Regions from separate parts of the Homo sapiens genome. Here region 1 is linked to region 2. The links are contacts of gene promoters, found by promoter capture Hi-C in blood cells and fetal thymus (Javierre and others, 2016). All regions are on one chromosome and are shown on one strand. The core of a region is centred on a gene start or on the middle of the fragment in contact, and the rest is flanking DNA. Distances in the headings are between cores, read along the strand shown.

Region 1 (5,915 bases), core at 2,761-5,260, 1.0 Mb after region 2:
TCCTGACTCTGCCTGGATAACTTCTATTTGTCCTTCCAGGCTTATGATTTTCTATGACACGACACTCCCTCTCTCTGTGATGTGTACCCTTTAGTACACAGCATTTTTCCTTCATAAATTATGACACAATTTCTTATTATATTTTTATCTGGGCTGATTGTTTAAAATCTGTCTCTTCTACTGGAGTGAAACCTTATGAGATCAGAGAATCTGTCTCTGTTGTTCACTGCTTTATACGCAGTATTTAGTGCCATACAATGGAATCACATTTAACTTTGCAAACACATGTACTAGGTGTGTGCACTGAACAAGAACCTGCCTACCCATCTCCACCCTGCTGCTGTCTCTGTATCACCTGACCCTCCACAATGGTTGCTGCTCAGTAAAGAGGGTTTTTTTTGTTTTTGTTTTTGTTTTGACATGGAGCTCTGTCACCCAGGCTAGAGTGCAATGGCGCAATCTTGGTTCACTGCAACCTCCACCCCCCAGGTTCAAGTGATTCTCCTGCCTCAGCCTCCTGAGTAGCTGGGATTACAGGTGTGCACAACCACACCCAGCTAATTTTTGTATTTTTAGTAGAGATGGGGTTTCACCATGTTGGTCAGCCTGGTCTCAAACTCCTGACCTCGTGATCTGCCTGCCTCAGCCTCCCAAAGTGCTGGTATTACAGGCGTGAGCCACCGTGCCCGGTCGCAGTAAAGAGTTTTTATAAATGCATGTTGAATATGCATTGATTATGAATGCATGTAACAAGGCAACTCTAGAATTCAGATCTGTGGCAAGTAGTTAGCCACATTGTGGGACATCATCGTTTCTCATATATTCTTTTCTTTTCCATTCAAGCCCAGAATAATAATCGCTCTTCCTTATGACATGCGGCCTGAGTGCTGAGACTAGTACACATACTTCACATGTATTAAACAAATTCATATCTAATTCTCAGGACAACCCAATGAGATAGGTACTATCATTAGTTCCATCTTACAGATAGGAAAACTGAGGCATAGGTTAGGTCCCTTGCTCAAGGTGACATGGCTAGTGAATGGTGGAGCTTTATTCTCTTAACCACTACATTCTATTGCATTTTCAAAGCTAGAGTGTAATCTTACATGGAAATCCATGTCTCCCCATGTGTGAAGGAGGGCCCTTTGGAACCCAAGCAGAGTTCGTGGGCATTGGCCTTTGGAAGGCTCCCACTAGGATCCTATAGCTTTGTCCTGTATAGTCCTCATGTCAGCAGGATCAGAATAATTATGCGTCTTTCTAAACAATAAAGGAGTGTGGGATGACCTGCTAAGTTTTCACTGTAGTCAGGCTCCTGAAAGTCTGTTTTGAGGGTCATGCATGCTTTACAGAACAAGTTGGCTTGCCTTAGGAATGGCCAGGGCTCCCCACCTTTAGCACAGAGGAATGTGCAGGACAGCTCAGTAATGGCCCATTCTGGAGGCTTCTACCTTAGAACGTTCTGCTTGCTAGATTAAAGGACGGATTCTGGGCCATTTACTCTCTGGTTACCAAAATAATTGCCGTCTAGGCAATTATTTAGGTGGTTATACGGAACATAGCCCACATGATTATCAAATGCCAAATTACATTGAATTTCAACATGGGTAATATCAAGTTACATAGAGCCCTGAACCAGCTGATATGTGGACATTGATGTGGGGGGATAGAGAGAAGGTAAGAAAAGAAAAAAAAAAAACGTCAATTCTTTCTTGGAAAATAGGTTTCCCACACAACAGGAATTCCCACCCAGTAGTTTGGCATACGCTTAGAATACCTTCTCTGGAAGTCTCCATACCATCCTCCCTGACCCCGCTTCTTGAGTCATGGATTCCTGGAGAGGCTGGGATCCTGGAGGGTCATTTTAGTGAAGCTTTAGTGATTGTGAAAAACCCAAGTGACTCTGGCTAGTCTTAAGCAAACGGGGCATTTATTTGAAAGATGCTGAGCATCCATCTCAGTGAGTCCAGGAAAGATCCAAACAGGCAAGATCAAATAGCTAGAACAGGACAGCCAGAGCCACTCCTGTGGGTTGGGAGGACAGACCCCAGGCAGGAGGCATCCCCCACACACAACCCAGTGGCTCCCACTACGTGTCCCAGTCCCGGCTTTTCTTGAGGACTCTCTTCTAATGGCAGCACCAATTCCTGTCCCTCCCCTTCTCCATATCTGTTTCACTGCCAGGTCCTGGCTCCCCAGCGATCTCGAGATCTCAGGGAGATGAAAAAGTAGATTCTTACCACAAAAAGGTCAGGGATTCTTGAGCCAAAAACAATGAGTCCCATTGTCTGACCACGTAGAGGGAGAGAATGGGTGGAAGAAATGGGTTGAAGGGGTTGGAATACATCTATTTCTGGATCTTTTGGGACTTGGTACTTTTGGTATAAACAGAGTATCCCTTGTATATTTAAAATTGGTGAATTTTACCACACAAAAACCAAACATCCAAAAAACCAAACAAAAAAAAAAACCTCCCGTAAAGAAACCCCTCAGATTATCCCTAGTTCTCTTGGAAGGCATAATTGCCGTGAAATCCCGGCCCCCAGTGTGCAGTGCCAAATTACAGAGCAAGACTCCATCAAAAAGAAAGGAAAGAAAGGAAGAAAGAAGGGAGTGAGGGAGGGAAGGAAGGAAGGGAGGAAGGAGGGAAGGGAAGGAAGGAAGGAAATTTGTTCAGTAGAATATAGTTAATTGGAACACGTTTAACAGCTCAACTGAATAACACCTATTTTGGCACATTTACTATGTAGCAATGCTAACTCTTCACTATAATAGTAAGAGGTAGATACTCTGTCATCATCCTGATATTTTACAAAGACGTCAAGTAAATTGTCCAAGGTCACACAGATGCTCACTGGGTTATTCTGTTGTGGGAATCTGGGGAAAAAGCTCAGAGACTAAGTGATCCCAAGGCATAGCTACATGCCAAGATTGGGGTAGTATGACATTATCTTTTTCTCCTTACTTGTATTGATTGTTTGCCTTTTTCTCAATACCACATGTAGAATGTGATGTTTCAAATTTTGCAGGGGAAATTAATGAAAGCTTAAGGAGAATCATGAAGAGCTCACTCACTGAGACAATTGAAGCATCCTTAAAGAAATGAACACTTTTTGTTGTCTGTGTTGAGTCACTGATGTCTAATCCCCTTTAAACCAAACCCTGTACTCAGTCTTTTGTGCCCAGGTAAGAGTTGTTGATTAAAGTGTTTGCTGTTTGGGGGCTAACATTTTCTTGTCAAGCTGGAAAATTTGTGTTTTTGCATGTTTGTTTTGAACATGAAAGAGAAAGCGCTGTAGTTGGGTGGCAGGTGCTTATCTGAACACTTCCCCTCTCTCTCTCTCTGGCTCTCTCTGGCTCTCTCTGTCTCTCTCTCTCAAATTAATTATATATGAGCTAGAGGAAGTTGCTATTCACAGGAATAACCTGATAAATCCTCCAGGAAAGACTATCAACCTGACTTTCTCTTTTCGGTAGATCCGTTTTTGTTGTTGTTTGTTTATTTCTTAGTGTTAGGCTTGATTTACGTGAAGTCCACTAAAAACCTTGGAAAAGAGAGCATTACGTCTGGGTAGTTCAGATCTTGTTTTAGATGTTGAATGTCTGTGATAAATTTGTAAGAGGAGGCTGGCTCCTCTGGAGCGTAGTTTAAACTGCTCCTTCTGTTTCCTACTCCTTCGTTCCAGCAATTCTTTGTAAATTTAGATGAGGAACAAAACCTTCCTCAAATATTTCTCCAAAAGAACTACACATTAAGTAAATAGGTTCTACAGATAGGACTGCCAATGCCAGGTTTTAAAGTTAGTTAGGAAGGTGCATCTATGAAATGCTTACACAGTGTGAGGGAGCAGGAATAGGAAGGGGCTGGGATAAAGGGAGACTAGAGGCACATTTGTCTTCATTGATACAGACCCAGAGAAGAGGGGCCTGAAAATGGAAACTTATTTCCCTCCTTCATAGTGTAAGCATAGCATTTTCCTCTACCAGCCCTACTATAGTGTGAATGTTTGTGTCCCCTCAACATTTGTATGTTGAAATCCTAACCTCTAAGGAAATGGGGCCTTTTGGGAGGTGATGAGGTTGTGAGGGTGGACCCCTCATAAATGAGATTAGTGCCCTATAAATAGGCTCAAGGGAGCTCGTTTGCCCCTTCCACTGGCGAGGAGACAGCGAGAAGGCGCCATCTCTGACCCAGGAAGAGGGCCCTCACCAGATTCTGCATCTGCCAACATTCTGATCTTGGACTTCCCAGCTTCCAGAACTGTGAGAAATGAATTCCTGTAGTTTGTAAGCTACCCAGTTTATGACATTTTGTTATAGCAGCCTGAATAGAGTAAGACACTACCCTAAAACTTGTTCAGTTTTTAGAAGATTCAGTGAGAGCCAAGTTTTCTTTTCTCACTGTAATCATAGGGATTGGTTCATTAGGTAAATTAAGAAAATGAAATTAAAAATTAAAACAGAAAAGGAACTCCAAAAACAAAAACAACAAAACAAAATTCATTTATCCTCTTCTTAGAATTTCAGCCAAATAAAGGTATATCCAAGTTGAACCTCCCAATCTAAAAATCTGAAATCTGAAATGCTCCAAAATCCAAAACTTTTTGAGCACCAATATAACACCATAAGTGAAAAATTCCACATCTGACTGCATGTGGCAGGGTGCAGTCAAATGCATTCGAAACTTTGTTTCATGCTCCAAATTATTTAAAATCATGTATAAAATTACCTTCAGGCTACCTGTATAAAGTGTATATAAAACGTAAATGAATTTCGTGTTTAGACTTGGGTCCTATCCCCTATCCTGAAGATACTTCATTGTGTTTATGTAAATATTCCAAAATACAAAAACAAAAACCAAAACCCAAGTTTAAAATACTTCTGGTCAGTCCCAAGCACTGAAGATAAGGGAGACTCAACCTGTATCACAACCAGCATTCCACCTTGGCAAGGCCAACAGCAAGCTTAAATTACATATGCTAATATGTTCTCAGTCTCTCTGAAACTATGGTTGTCAATTTGTTGTTTTGATGTTACCTCTAAGTAGTCATCAAAAGTAAGAAAATATTGTGTTACATTAAGGTTACGCTATAAGTCTCAGGAGAGGGCTGCTTACGTAAGCAGCTAAAGGAAAGCAGCACTAATGAATTGGTATCCCATTTCAGTTATTGTTAAAATATACACCATGACATTCAATATTCAGTGTTTTTTGAAATGGTTTAAGCATAACTCTTTAATAAGATCTTAAATGCCCATTCTTATTTAAAGTCATTTTTGGTTTTCACACTAAATTACGCTTTTTTTCCCTTTACTTTTGCATCTATTAACTCTATTCCTTAAATTATTATTATTTTTACTTTTGTTTCTCAAGGAGTTATCTCAATTTTGAGGAATCATGCTGGGGCAAGGATTGCAGTTGAAGTATTTTGCTTTTGGAGTGTATAATAGTATGAATAATTTTGTGATGTTTTGGGGTTTGGATTACTTTGGGAAGATCTGTGTCATTAAACATCATAAAAAGAATTCCCATCTGTCTTGCTTCAGTTTATAATTCCTTTCTTGATTTTTATGGTTGCAGATCTGTCAAAGCCTGGAGCATATTTTATGGGCATGTTTCATGGGGTCTTGGTTTGCAGAGGCTCCTAAGAAAATCTCCTTTGTGGAACCTAGGCCCTCCAAACAAAAGCTGCTGTACAATGAGGCCAGTTCTCTGTGGTCACCTGACTGACCCAAAGTTAGCTGAAGCCTGTAGGCCATGAATTATAAAAGAGATTTTTAAAAAATGAGAGTGCAAATGATATGTTTGACATAAAAGAGGTGGCGGGTTTTAGGTGTAATTTGAGAAGACTGATGGGTATGTGTGTGAGTTCAGCCCTAGCACCCAAATGCCAGGCTACTCTCAGTATAGCCAG
Region 2 (6,379 bases), core at 2,265-4,764:
TCTAGCCTACACATACTGAGCCTTTTTTTAACACCATTTGGGGGGCTCCAAAATATAATATTGGGGCTCCAATATAAAAAAGCTAAGTAACTATCTAGAGGCTCTTTTGTTCATAAACAACACTATACTGTATTTCTCAAATTTGGGGTAGGAAATAATTCTGAAGAGATATGAGTCTAAACAGTGGAATTCCGAATACCTACTTAGAATAGAGGACAGTAGGTATAAGTAGTACATAAAAGTTCATTAGAAGACCCATATAATGTACAGTTAGAGATTTTAATAGAGATTCAGTCTTATGAATTATCACTGTACACATACAATTTCCACAATTCTTTTGAACATTGAAACAACCAGCTTAGACTACTAAACGACTGTCCCTTCCACAAGGCTAGTTGTCTCTTTTTAAAATATATCACTCCTAAGAGAGCCTGATTTACTAAGTGAGCCCTAACAAAATTTCAGGTAAGCAAATCTTGTTTTATCATCTCTACGAGCATGTCTCCCTGCCTTCAAATGCCCTCAAGCAGCTGTAAGACTTCAACTCTGTAAAATCCTGTAGATCTTCACATATTATTATAAAACTACTTGTATCTACAGCCTCTCAAAAATCAAAGCTTTTAGCAGCTCCATGAGAACTTTTTAAACCAATTCACTCTAAATTATGGAAGTATAACTGATAGCCCTTTAATTTACCTAAAGGCATTTTCACTTTTAAATGAAGTTTGTTAACCTAATTAACTTACATACTTTCAGGAAGTTTACAAATTAGAAAATCAAAATGAAAACTTTCATACAGAGTAAGAAAGGGCATATCCCAGGAAGAGAAGATTGGAAGCTGGAGTCTAGCATATGTATCCCACTCACCTAGGCATGTAATCATACACCTTATAATCACTTGGTTCAATATTTGATTTTTTTTTTTTTTTTTTTTTGAGACAGAGTCTTGCTCTGTCGCCAGGCTGGAGTGCAGTGGTGGGATCTTGGCTCACTGCAACCTCTGCCTCTTGGGTTCAAGCGATTCTCCTGCCTCAGCCTCCCGAGTAGCTGGGGCTATAGGCGTGCACCACCACGCCCAGCTATTTTTTTGTATTTTTAGTAGAGACGGGATTTCACCATGTTGGCCAGGATGGTCTCGATCTCTTGACCTCGTGAATATCTGATTTTTTTCAGTGACAACAAAGCTGGTGCCCAGAGACCAAGGTTAACCACTCATACTACAGTACTATACAGCCTCCTCTAAGGTATTCCTGCATTTCATTTCACTCCAGACCTCTAAACCCATGGGTTCCCTACAGCCTAACTTTTGCACAACAGAACTTAATAGTAGGGGTCCCTGGACTTCTGTGGAAAAAGGAAGTTGCATGTGAGGTGGGAATTTGAAAGAAGAGTATGAATAGTTTAAATTCCAGAACTGCCTTGGATTTCTAGATGTCGTATGTAACTCCAAAACCAAACAATAGACATGCTTAAGAATATTCACAATGTCCCTAAATTAAAGCATATGTTTATGCTTCTCTTATGGGGGAATAAAGTGGTTTACAGGCTTCTGGTCAATTCATAGGTCATATTGTTTACTTTTATTTAAAATTAAGTTAGGTCTGCCTTTTTAAAGGTAAGAAAAGTTAAATTTTAGACGAAAGTCTAAATTTGTTACATTCAAAAGGAATTATGTATTAAATTCAAAAGACAATTTAAATTCAAGTTCTATTTTTTTCTGCATGTGCTTTAAAGTTGAGTTATATACACCTAAACAAATTAAAAATTATTCAACTGGCATATACATTGTAAACGAATATCTCATTTAGGAACCAGATGATACTTTATATATATTTACACATATGTTTATATATATACACACACACATACATACATATATATTCAAAATACAATCAGGCACTAGACAAAATAGTCATATTGTTGGTATTACGATTTTATAAGTTTGTTTTGTTCTGATTTGCATTTGAAAATTAGATCAGCCAAAACTTGATGGCAAATAGTCTGATTTACAGCCCAACTATGACAGTCAAAGGAGACACCAGAATTACCCGTCACTAAATCCCATCACCAGTATTACCAGGGAAGTGGGTGAGGACTGTCAAGGGCATTACAGGTAATGGAACAGCAACACACAAAGATTTGGGGATTTTAACAAACTAAAACCAGTATTTCACGAACACCTAATAAGGACAAGATCACAACCTATCCCCACATGGTCAAATTAACTTGGAAAGGAGAAAAACTTCACTCTGACATCGATTGGTACTGCCTTCTTTGGGGAGGAAAAAAAGCATTTTTATACTCTGAACTCTGTCGTTCTCATAGACAAAGTTATAGCAGTGTTTGCAGAGAGTAGGGAGTATCCCATCCACCACTTATTTCTTTCTCATATCTACTCAGTAATTCAATACAAGAAAGAAAAAGATAACCAGGACTTAAAGCAAAAACAGAATTCAGTTCCATGCTCCTCCCAAGCCTTATTATTTCCAGGTGTTATAACTGGGAGTTCCGCGGACAGATTTGAGTTCTACTTCCGCTCCTTTAACCCCCTATTCCGAAGAGTCCAAGAGCAGCAGCAAAGAAAAAGACCAACTCGAAAGTGGGGAAGGGATGTTGGGGTTAAAGAGGGGAGTTAAATAACCAGACCTTTAGTGAAGAATAAAGAATTCAGGCTGTAGTTTGTAGAAATAAGTTATTACAGGCCTGTAAAGTCTGGCGCTGGGTAAAGCCCAAGAGGCTTTCCCTAACTCCAAAACGGCGACCTTTAAAGTAAGGGAGGGTTGGGGCACCACAGCGGCCGGATTTCTAATTGTGGAAAGTTTAAACAAATTTGTCCCTCGGGGAATGGGGGAAGGGAGAGAAGAACAAGTCTGGGCTCGGCCGGGGAGCGTGCGGAGTCTGCACGCCGCGGCCGTCGGTCCAACGCGGGGAGGCTCAGGGATTTTCGGCAGCAGCGACTTCATCCACCCCGGACCGCCGGCTGGAGGACGTGCCTGCAGCCGGCGGGTACCTGCGGCCAATTCGGTGGAACGAGGACGCGGACTGCGAAGGCAGGTGGGTCTGGCACGAAGGGGCAGGAGTCCTAGGCTCTGGGTGGAAGTTGGGGGTGGGACGGCGCCGGGAGGCCGGGGAGGCAGCGGCGAAAGGCGGCGGGCGGCTCTACTTACTCGGCTGTACCAGATGCTGAGGCGGGCCGCGGCCAGCACGGCGAAGAAAGCCCTCTGCGGGTCGGACTGAACGTGGAAAGGCGCCTCGGCCGGGCTCCCCAGAGGGCACAGCAGCCTCTTGGGCCAGCCGCTCAGAAAATACATGGTCCGTGCGGAGCCCCCGGCGCCCCCAGTTGCGTCCGTCACACTCAGCGGCCCCGGGCTGGTCGCCCACCTCCCACACCGCCACCGGCCGAGTCGGCGGCGGCGGCGGCGGCAGCTCGGGGCATCTGCCCGCTGGCCTGGCCGGGCCGGGCCGACGCAAGGCTGCGCGACGAAGGCACCCCCAAGCTGACGGGGCCGAGTGTGGGGGAGGGAAGGGGAGGGAGAGTAGGGACACAGAGAGGGCGGGAGGAGCGCGGAGGCCCGCCCCGACCCCGCCCCTTCCTCAGGCCGCGCGGGCGTCACCACGCCGCGCCGCGTGGGTCGGGCCGGGGAGGGCCCGCGCGCGCGCTCTGGAGACTCCTGCGGTCTCCCTAGCTGTTTCTTGAAGCTCTGCATAAGCCTCGCCCGCGGCCGCCGGGTTGCGTCCGCACTTCTGCGCGCTGGCCCCTCCCTTGCTCCTCTCCCTAGCAGTCTCCAGGGTTTTACCGGGAGGACCTAGGCAACGGCCTGAGACTCCGAGGCAAGTGGGGCGAGTCTAGGGATAACGCAGCAGCAAGGCTACTGGGCCGGTGGAACACGCCCTGGCCTGGCCAAATTGGACCTCCCTTCCGGATTGGCGGGGTCTCGGTGGGGGCGGGCCGGTTGCCGGGGGGAGCTGGAGTCACGTGACGGCCGGCGCGGTTTCCCACTTTGGGCTGCCGGCCGCTGTGGCTGTGGTGGGCGGTAGGGGCTTTTACCGTGTGAGCTCCTTTAATGCCGGGGTCTGCAGTGAGAGCTGGTGATGAAGCTCCTGCCGGTGTGGAGCTTACATCCCTAAGGGAGCGTTTATTTAATCAGTAAATAAACCACTCACCATGAAAGTATTGAGTTCTGTCTCCTGCCTTTCAGGAGTTCTAAATCTATGTCTTTGAAATCCATTTCCATTCGTCTCAGCCTTACCAGCCATAACTTTAGATGAGAGGAGGCTATCTCTTTCGTGCTGCAAAAGGCTTGGACTTAGTTTTAGAACTGGAAGGGACTGGTGATAGCGTAGGTCCATATTTAGCTTTTGGACCCCAGGTATCACCTTAGCTGTAACTTTCAACGGATTGACCCAGTGGTAACGTCTGAATAGAAGGAGGGTTGAGGGGATATGGTGTGGAATGGGGGAAGGAGGAGTCTGAAATAGAAGAAAGATTTGCTTCTCATTGTCTACCTTTTTTAGTACAGTTTGAATTTTTCCATATGTTTGTATTACTTTTTCAATTAAAAAGCCAGGTTTAAAAAATGACCCCACATTAAAAAGTAGCAACGTAGGCGGGGTGCTGGGGCTCACGCCTGTAATCCCAGCATTTTGGGAGGCCGAGGCGGGCAGATCACTTTAGGTAAGCAGTTCGAGACCAGCCTGGCCAACATCGTGAAACCCCCGTCTTACTGAAAATACAAAAATTAGCTGGGCGTGGTGGCAGGTGCCTGTAATCCCAGTTCCTCAGGAGGCTAAGGCAGGAGAATCGCTTGAACCTGGGAGGCGGAAGTTGCAGCAAACCAAGATCCCTCCACTGCACTCCAGCCTGGGCAACAGAGTGAGACTGTCTCAAAAAAAAAAAAAAAAGTAGCAACATAAACAGAAAAAAGGAAACAAAGAAACTTAATTCATATTAGATATAGCATTGTAGCTGGTATTCATAACCAAATATGTAACTTTCTGTAATTTTTCTAAACATTCACTGCATTCCCTGGAAGGTGATGATAGAATCCTGTATTCCTCAAATGGAGGTTGAAACTGCCTCACCACTCACCAGCCTGTTGCGATCAGATTGTCTCCTTGGCGTCTACCCTCCCCCAGTCCAACACAGCAGCCTGGAACATAGTAAGCATAGTAAGCTGGCAGTATTTGTCAGACAAACCGTGGAGGAAACCCTGATCCAGCTGAGCTACACCATTAGACAAAGAGGCCCAGAGAGGTTTCTTAACTTGCCAATTTCAAATTGTAGAATAACAAAGTTGCATCATACTTTCATCTTAGATTCAGTTATGCACTTGGCAGAAAGAGGAAATGAAAATGTTCTAGTGCAGCAATTTTGCTGGCAGTGTTACTGAATGTTTGTCCCAGCTGTCTCTCAGAGAGTCTTTGTTCTCATGTGTCTCAAGTTTGTCATACTGTGCTCATGGGCAATTTAAGGAACTTCTAAGCAATTTTTATTGCACTCAATTTTAACCTTACTTGCTGACTTTAGAAGCTTATTCCTCTGCCACACTCCTGTGTAGCACTTAAGATTCACAAAATAATTCCAAATGCTTGTCTTGATTTAATTCATAGTAAACATTCAAGGTGAGTGACATTGGTGTGATGTTGTTATTCTCACTTTCTCAAGTGAGGAAACAGGACAGGTGTGGTAGATGTGCCTGAATTCACATGGCCTGAAAAGAACTGATGTTCTTTCTACAGATCCAGTGTGATTTCTTTCTTTTTTTTTTTTTTTGAGGTGGAGTTTCGCTCTTGTTGCCCAGGCTGGCGTGCAATGGTGCCATCTCAGCTCACTGCAGCCTCCACCTCCTGGGTTCAAGCAATTCTCCTGCCTCAGCCTCTGGAGTAGTTGGGATTACAGGCATGCACCAACATGCCTGGCTAATTTTGTATTTTTAGTAGAGACGAGGTTTCTCCATGTTGGTCAGGCTGATCTGGAACTCCCGACCTCAGGTGATCCGCTCACCTCGGCCTCCCAAAGTGCTGGGATTACAGGCGTGAGCCACCGCACCCAGCCTCCTGTGTGATTTTTTTAAAAATTTAAGGTTTGGCTGGGCGCGGTGGCTCATGCCTGTAATCCCAAAACTTTGGGAAGCCAAGGCAGGCGGATCATGAGGTCGGGAGTTTGAGACCAGCCTGGCCAATATGGTGAAACCCTGTCTTTCTGCTAAAAAAAAAAAAATACAAAAATTAGCCAGGCATGGTGATATGCACCTGTCATCCCAGCTACTCTGGAGGATAAGGCAGGAGAATTGCTTGAACCTGGGAGGCAGAGGTTGCGGTGAGCCGAGATCGCTCCACTGCACTCCAGGCTGGGTAACAGAGTGAGACTTTGTCTCAA

What was found. The method cuts DNA at HindIII sites, captures the fragments that hold promoters and counts their contacts. A CHiCAGO score of 5 or more calls a contact.
Region 1: a contact is called between a fragment that was not itself captured here and the fragment with the promoter of RIC1 in region 2, in 1 of 17 cell types (fetal thymus). The highest score is 7.8, in fetal thymus.

What each region holds. Positions count from the first base shown.
Region 1 is chr9:4,597,927-4,603,841 of GRCh38, reverse strand. SPATA6L (spermatogenesis associated 6 like) reads left to right here. Exons shown (of 12, transcript NM_001353486.2): 12 at 3,033-5,526. Among named protein-coding and RNA genes, the nearest start is that of PLPP6, 61 kb to the left of the region's middle. The HindIII fragment of the contact is 1,919 bases long and covers 3,051-4,969 here.
Region 2 is chr9:5,626,242-5,632,620 of GRCh38, reverse strand. It overlaps RIC1 (RIC1 partner of RAB6A GEF complex), which reads right to left and starts at 3,514. Exons shown (of 26, transcript NM_020829.4): 1 at 3,168-3,514. The coding sequence starts at 3,311. INCR1 (interferon stimulated noncoding RNA 1) reads left to right here and starts at 2,894. Exons shown (of 3, transcript XR_007061406.1): 1 at 2,894-3,054. RefSeq lists enhancers at 2,694-3,194, 5,105-5,324 and a silencer at 3,215-3,754. The HindIII fragment of the contact is 4,913 bases long and covers 620-5,532 here.